2 separate regions of the Homo sapiens genome follow, and region 2 is linked to region 1. Evidence: promoter capture Hi-C in human tissues and cell types (Jung and others, 2019). All regions are on one chromosome and are shown on one strand. Each heading gives the region's core, a stretch centred on a gene start or on the middle of the fragment in contact. The rest is flanking DNA. Distances are from core to core; before and after follow the strand shown.

Evidence for each region. Contacts are between HindIII fragments. The study calls those that stand out against the background at their distance.
Region 2: a contact is called between a fragment that was not itself captured here and the fragment with the promoter of FGR in region 1, in 1 of the 25 tissues and cell types used here (neural progenitor cells).

Annotation. Positions count from the first base shown.
Region 1 is chr1:27,633,356-27,636,532 of GRCh38, reverse strand. It overlaps FGR (FGR proto-oncogene, Src family tyrosine kinase), which reads left to right and starts at 1,348. Exons shown (of 13, transcript NM_005248.3): 1 at 1,348-1,468. RefSeq lists a silencer at 2,223-2,272. The HindIII fragment of the contact is 29,896 bases long and covers 1-3,177 here.
Region 2 is chr1:27,084,548-27,087,647 of GRCh38, reverse strand. No RefSeq gene overlaps it. Among named protein-coding and RNA genes, the nearest start is that of SLC9A1, 69 kb to the left of the region's middle. The HindIII fragment of the contact is 7,329 bases long and covers 1-3,100 here.

The sequences.
Region 1 (3,177 bases), core at 99-2,598:
GGGATCCCTATCAGACAGAGAGACTGGAACTGATAGAGGATGCTACCGTTTCTCTTTTTGTTTTTAAAAATCTTTTTCCACATGTTCTAAGATACTCAGTTTTTCTTCCTTTTTTTTTTTTTTTTTTTTTTTCTTGAGACGGAGTCTCGCTCTGTCGCCCAGGCTGGAGTGCAGTGGCGCCATCTCGGCTCACTGCAAGCTCCGCCTCCCGGGTTCACACCATTCTCCTGCCTCAGCCTCCTGAGTAGCTGAGACTACAGGCGCCCGCCACCACGCCCGGCTAATTTTTTGATTTTTAGTAGAGATGGGCTTTCACTGTGTTAGCCAGGACGGTCTTGATCTCCTAACATCGTGATCCACCCGCCTCGGCCTCCCAAAGTGCTGGGATTACAGGCGTGAGCCGCTGCACCCGGCCTTTTCTTTCTTTTTTTTAAAAAAAGTCATTTTCTGCAACAAAACCCACATTCTTTTTTTGTGTTTTTTTTTTTTAAGGCAGGGTCTTGCTCTGTCACCCAAGGTAGAGTGCAGTAGCTCAATCACAGCTCACTGCAGCCTCGACCTGCCTGACTCGAGGGATCCTTCCACCTCTGCCTCTGCAGTAGCTGGGACCACAGGTGCACACCACCACACCGAGCTAACTTAAGAAAAATTTTTTTTGGTAGAGATGGTGTCTCCCTATGCTGCCTAGGCTGGTCTGGAATTCCTGGGCTCAAGCAATCCTCCCACCCAACCTCCCAAAGTGCTGGGATTACAGGCTGAGCCACTGCCCCCAGCCAGTTACTCAGTTTTTCTAAAACTTGGGTGCCTGGGGGAGGCTGACACCCTTCCCACTCCTCTGAAAGGCAGTTTCCTAAGGGAAGGGTCTTCTGCTGCTCACCACCCTTAACAGCCCTGTGTCCCCAGTGCTCAGCCCCTGAGGAAGGGAAGGCGTGCTGACAGGGTCCATGTGATCCATGTCCAGTGGCTCTGGTGACAGCAGTCTGAAGTCAACTGGCTGTGAGAACTCGAGTAAGGCCAGTCCCGATCTGGTCCTCAGTGATGGAGAAAAGCCCCTCTTAACCTCCAATTCAATGATCCTAAAAGAGCAGGTGCTTCGGGGGTGCTGAAACTGCGCTTTTGGAGGGGGCTTTTGGGAAGGCCGGGCTGGGGACTCAGGTCTGGAGGGTGACAGAGCCGACCTCCCGTAAACCAGGGAGGAGGAAGGTGGGGGCGGGTGGGCCTAGGATCTGGGGGCGCCTCCTCGCTGCGGGGAGCTGGCTTGGGGCTAGGGCGTGACTGTCTCCCTGCCACCATCACCGCCCGCCGGCCGTGACTGCAATAAGAGAAGTCCGAGGCGGCTTCCTCCTCCCTGCCCAGCAGGGGCGGCGGTCAGAGGCGGGCAGCACCCCAGTTCTCCCCGCACGCCGGCACTCGCGGCTGCTGGAGCCCCGGCTGGCTCACCCCGGGGCCGGGCAGAATTGGGCTCCAGGTAAGCGACAGCGTCGGGTGGGGACTGGGCAGGTCAAGCAGTGCCCTCCCCCTCGAGGCTCTGGAGAGAGGACTGGGGGTACACGGGAAGAGAAGCCTGAACCTGGGGGTCGGGGGACACATGAGCAAGGTGACAGCCAAAGGGACCCCAGCCCGAAAAGGCCTAAGGAGGAAAACGGGCGACCTGAAAAGCAAGGCTGATAAACCTGGAGGAGAGGGCGGAGGGGAGCACGGGGGAAGCCGACCAAAGGGACCCCCAAAAAGGTCTAGTGGGTAAAATGGAGGGGACTGATAAGAGTTTAGGAAGGGGGCTGAGGTGGGGGAGAAGGATTAAGGGGAATCCCCAGGACGGTCTGGGGGAGAAACTGAAGGGATCGTGAGAGTGGGACTTTGGGGAGAAGCCGACGGGTCTGATGGGTCCAGGAGAGGGGAAATGGGTGGGGGTGCTGGAGGGAACAGGAGAGGGAGCTGGCGGGAAGGGGGTTGAGGAGAACGACTTCTGGAGGACGGAGAACCTGGGGTGCAATTGCGGGTCCAGGAAGTTCCCCTCTTCCGAGCCGGCCGAAGTCGGGGTGAAGCCCACAGCCCGCAGGGTAACGTTAGCGGCCGCGACCGCGGCCCCGCGACCCTCTCGGCCCGCCCTTGCGGTAGGTTCCGGGCTGCAGGGGACTCCTGCCGGGCGCGCGAGGCGTGGGTCCCCGCTTCCTGGGGAAGTCCCCGCCCTCGGCAGGGACAGGCCTCTCCGGGCGCCCCCTCCGCGCCCGCGGCGGTCTCGGCCCGCGCTCCCCGCTGGATCCGGGAATTGCTGCCGCCCCGACGGAAATCCTGCCTTTGACCGCGAGTGCCCGCAGGGGCTGCCTCCAAGGCAACGAGAGGGCGGGCCGCGCTGGGCCGCCGCGGGGCTCCGGGTGGGCGCAGCCCCCTTTGCTCTCCGCCTTCGCCCCCTTTTGGAATCCTCGGTCTGGTGGGTGGGGGGTGGGCTTCCCGACCGAGGTAGGAGGCGATGCCGCTGTGTTCAGGGATCCTGGGGTGGAGGATCTGCTGTTTGAGAGACCTGGGTTCTTAGCAAGACTGGGCCCTTAATTGCTGTGTGACTGTGGGCAAGTTACAGGGCTTCTCTGGGCCTCACTTTCCTCATCTGAACTATGGTGAGAAATGATCCTTGTGTCCACTCTTCCCCCACGAGAATCAGGTGCAGAAAGCAGTTTTTGCTGAGTGTCCTGAAGGGTTAAGGGCTATCCCTGACTCAGCGAGCCTCCCCTTCACCTTCTCAAAAACATGCAGAGGAGGCCAGCCTGGGCAGCACAGGGAGACCCCCGTCCTGTCTCTACAAAAAAATATAGTTAGCCAGAAGGCTGGAAGTGGTGGCACCTGCTGTAGTCCCAGCTACTCCAGAGGCTGAGGCCGGAGGATCGCTGGAGCCCACGAGTTCAAGGCTGCAGTGAGAGCTCCTGGATGAGAGAGTGAGATTTTGTCTGTAAACAACAACAACAACAAAAAGCATGGAGGGGGACCAGACTGCCCGGCTCTCACTGACAGGGCCTCCAGGGACCAGCACACAGTTGGCGTCTAAATAGTTTATGGCTCTGATGAGAGCCCATACTGGGGAGGTCAGCAGAGTTAAAATCTGTCTCACACCCTCTCTGGTGCTGCATCCAGTTGGCCGCCCCTCGGGTGTGTACTCTCAGGGGCCCTGATGTCCTTGGCATC
Region 2 (3,100 bases), core at 500-2,999, 550 kb after region 1:
CTTACAAAGTGCTGGGCAGAGTTAAAGGAACCAAGAAAGGCTGGTGAAGCCTGAAGGGTCTGCAGCAGCAGGAAGCTCTTACCAGCCGGGGAGCAGGGAAGGTCCTGGAATCTGGTGAGAGCTGGAGCCTGGGGAGAGGTCAGCCTCTAGGCCCAGCGCAGAATGGAGAAAGGTGAAGAGGGCACCTGGACTGGCAGGAGGAACATATGACCCAACACCCATTTTACAGATAAGAAAACTGGGCTGGGTGCAGTGACTCACACCTGTAATCCCAGCACTTTGGGAGGCCGAGGCAGGCAGATCACTTGAGGTCAGGAGTTTGAGACCAGCTTGGCCAACATGGTGAAACCTGTCTTTACTAAAAATACAAAAATTAGCTGGGGCGCATGCCTGTAATCCCACCTACTCAAGAGGCTGAGGCAGGAGAATTGCTTGAACCCAGGAGGCGGAGGTTGCGGTGAGCCAAGGTCGTGCCACTGCACTCCAGTCTGGGTGACAAGAGTGAGACTCTCAAAGAAAACTGAGGCTCAGCTGCCCCATGCAATTTGACAGATAGGTCCAGAGCACCTGCTGTGTGTGTGTGTGTGTGTGTGTGTGTGTGTGTGTGTGTGTGTGTGTTGTGTGGCGGGGGGTGGTGTGTGTCTGTGGTGTGAGGTATGTGTGGGGTGTGTGTTTGGTGTGTGGTGTGTGGTTGTGTGTGTGGTGTTTGGTACGTGAGGTGTGTGTGTGGTGTGTGGTGTCTATGGGTGTTGTGTATGCTGTGTGTGTGTGTGGTGTGTGTGGATGTGGTGTGTGTGGTGTGATATGTGGGGTGTGTGGTGTGTGTGGGATAGGCGGTGTCTCTGTGTGTGATGTGTGTGGTGTGCAGGGTGTGTATGGGGTGTGTGGGGTGTGTGTATGTGTGTAGTGTGTGGTGTGTGTGGTATGTGGGATGTGTGGTGTGTAGTGTGTGTGGTGTGGTGTATGGATGTGGTGTGTGTGGTGTCTGTGTGTGTGGTATGTGGGGTATGTGGTATGTGTGTGGTGTGTATGTGTGGTGCAGTGTGTGGGCTGTGTGGTATGTGGTGTGTGTGTGGTGTGGTGTGTGTGATCTTTGTGGTGTGTGGGGGTGGTGTGTGAGGTGTATGTGGTGTGTGATGTGTGTGTGGTATGGTGTGTGTTGTGGTTGGCAGAATTGTAAGATGGCCTCCAAGATTCCTGCCTTTTGTTGTACAAGACATGTATAATCCCCTCCCCTTGACGGTATACAGGCAGAACCTGTATGGTGGGATATTGCTGTGATTAGGTTACATTATATAGCAAAGGTGAATATTGCAAATATAATTAAGGCCCCTAATCAGTTGACTTTGAATTAATCAGAAGAAACTCATCTTGGTGGGCCTGACCTAATCAGGTGAGCCTTTTACAGAGCGCTTTACTGCTGGCCTTGAAGGAGCAAACTGTCCTCTTGTGAAGGGGGTCACATGTCAGTGAGCAACTGGTGGCCTCTAGGAGCTACGAATGGCCCCTGTTGGCAGCCAGCAAGAAAGTAGAAACCTCAGTCCTCCAATTGCAGGAAACTGAATTCTGCAACAACCAATAAGCTTGGAAGATGACCCTGAGCCCCAGCTGGGGTCACAGTCTGGGCTAGTTCCTTGATTTCAGCCTGGTAAGATGCTAAGCAGAGGACTCAAAACATGCTGGGCTTCTGACCCACAGAAACTGTGACACAATAAATGTGTTTTTTGTTTGTTTGTTTGTTTGTTTGTTTGTTTTTGACGGAGTCTCGTTCTGTCACCCAGGCTGGAGTGCAATGGCACAATCTCGGCTTACTGCAACTTCCACCTCCTGGGTTCAAGAGATTCTCCTGCCTCAGCCTCCCAAGTAGCTGGGATTACAGGTGCGCGCCACCACACCTGGCTAATTTTTGTATTTTTAGTAGAGACGGTTTCGCCATGTTGACCAGGGTGGTCTCAAACTCCTGACCTCAGGTGATCTACCCACCTCAGCCTCCCAAAGTACTGAGATTACAGGCATGAGCCACCACGCCTGGCAAATGTGTGTTCTTTTAAGCCACTAAGTTTGTGGTAATGTATTACACAGCAATAGAAAACTAATACAGCCATTAGTTTACTTTTGTTTTGTTTGTGTGTGTGTTGGGGGTGGAGAGTGGATATTAGAAATGTTTTTAAAGTGGTGGGAAATGACCCAGTAGAGAAGGAAACACTTTGATAAAGTAAAAGAGGTAGAGATTCAGAATCAAGACATTCTGAGGCCAGGCACAGTGGCTCACATCTGTAATCCCAGCACTTTGGGAGGCTGAAGCAGGAGGAGCTCTTGAGTCCAGGAGTTCAAGACAAGCCTGGGCAACATAGAGACACTGTGTCTCTACAAAAAACAAAAGACAAAAAAACATAGCCAGGCATGGGTGGTGGCCCATGCCTGTGGCCCCAGCTAGTCAGGAGGCTGAGGTGGGAGGGTCGCTTCGCCCAGGAGATTGAGGCATGATTGCACCACTGCACTCCAGTCTTGGTGACAGAGCGAGACCCTGTCTTAAAAAGAAGGAGAAGGAGGAAAAGAAGGAGAAGAAAGAGAAGAAGGGGAAGAAGAAGGAGGAGAAGAAGAAAAGAAGAAAGAAGAGAGAGAAAAAAAAGACACCCTTGAGAGAAGTAGGGACAACATCTCCAAAGTAGGAAGAAGCAGATGGGTTTGCAGATTTTGTGGAGGAAAGATGAAAAGGTGTCTGTGTGACTGAAGGCATTAATTCTCTCAATAAATAGTCAGGCAAGGTTACCAAATCAAATGAGAATGAATCTAGAAAGGGAAATAGGAAATTTGAAGAAAGAGGAAAAGAAGTGAAATAGTTACCTTGAGAAAGAGGAGAAGAAAGAAACTGTTCGTGTTAGAAAAACAGTAGAGTTTTCCGTGTCGAGTCCCTTTGATGTTTGAGAACAGTGGCACTGCTCAGCTCAGCTGTACGAATTTGTCAGTGATCTTCAGATACTTGAGTGCAGGCACCAAGACAGATGGGTTTTGCCAGGCAAATAAGATGAAGTCAAAGAGGGGTTATGGAGTTCCAGGTATTGGCAAAGAGATAGTGATAATGATAAACCATAGACCC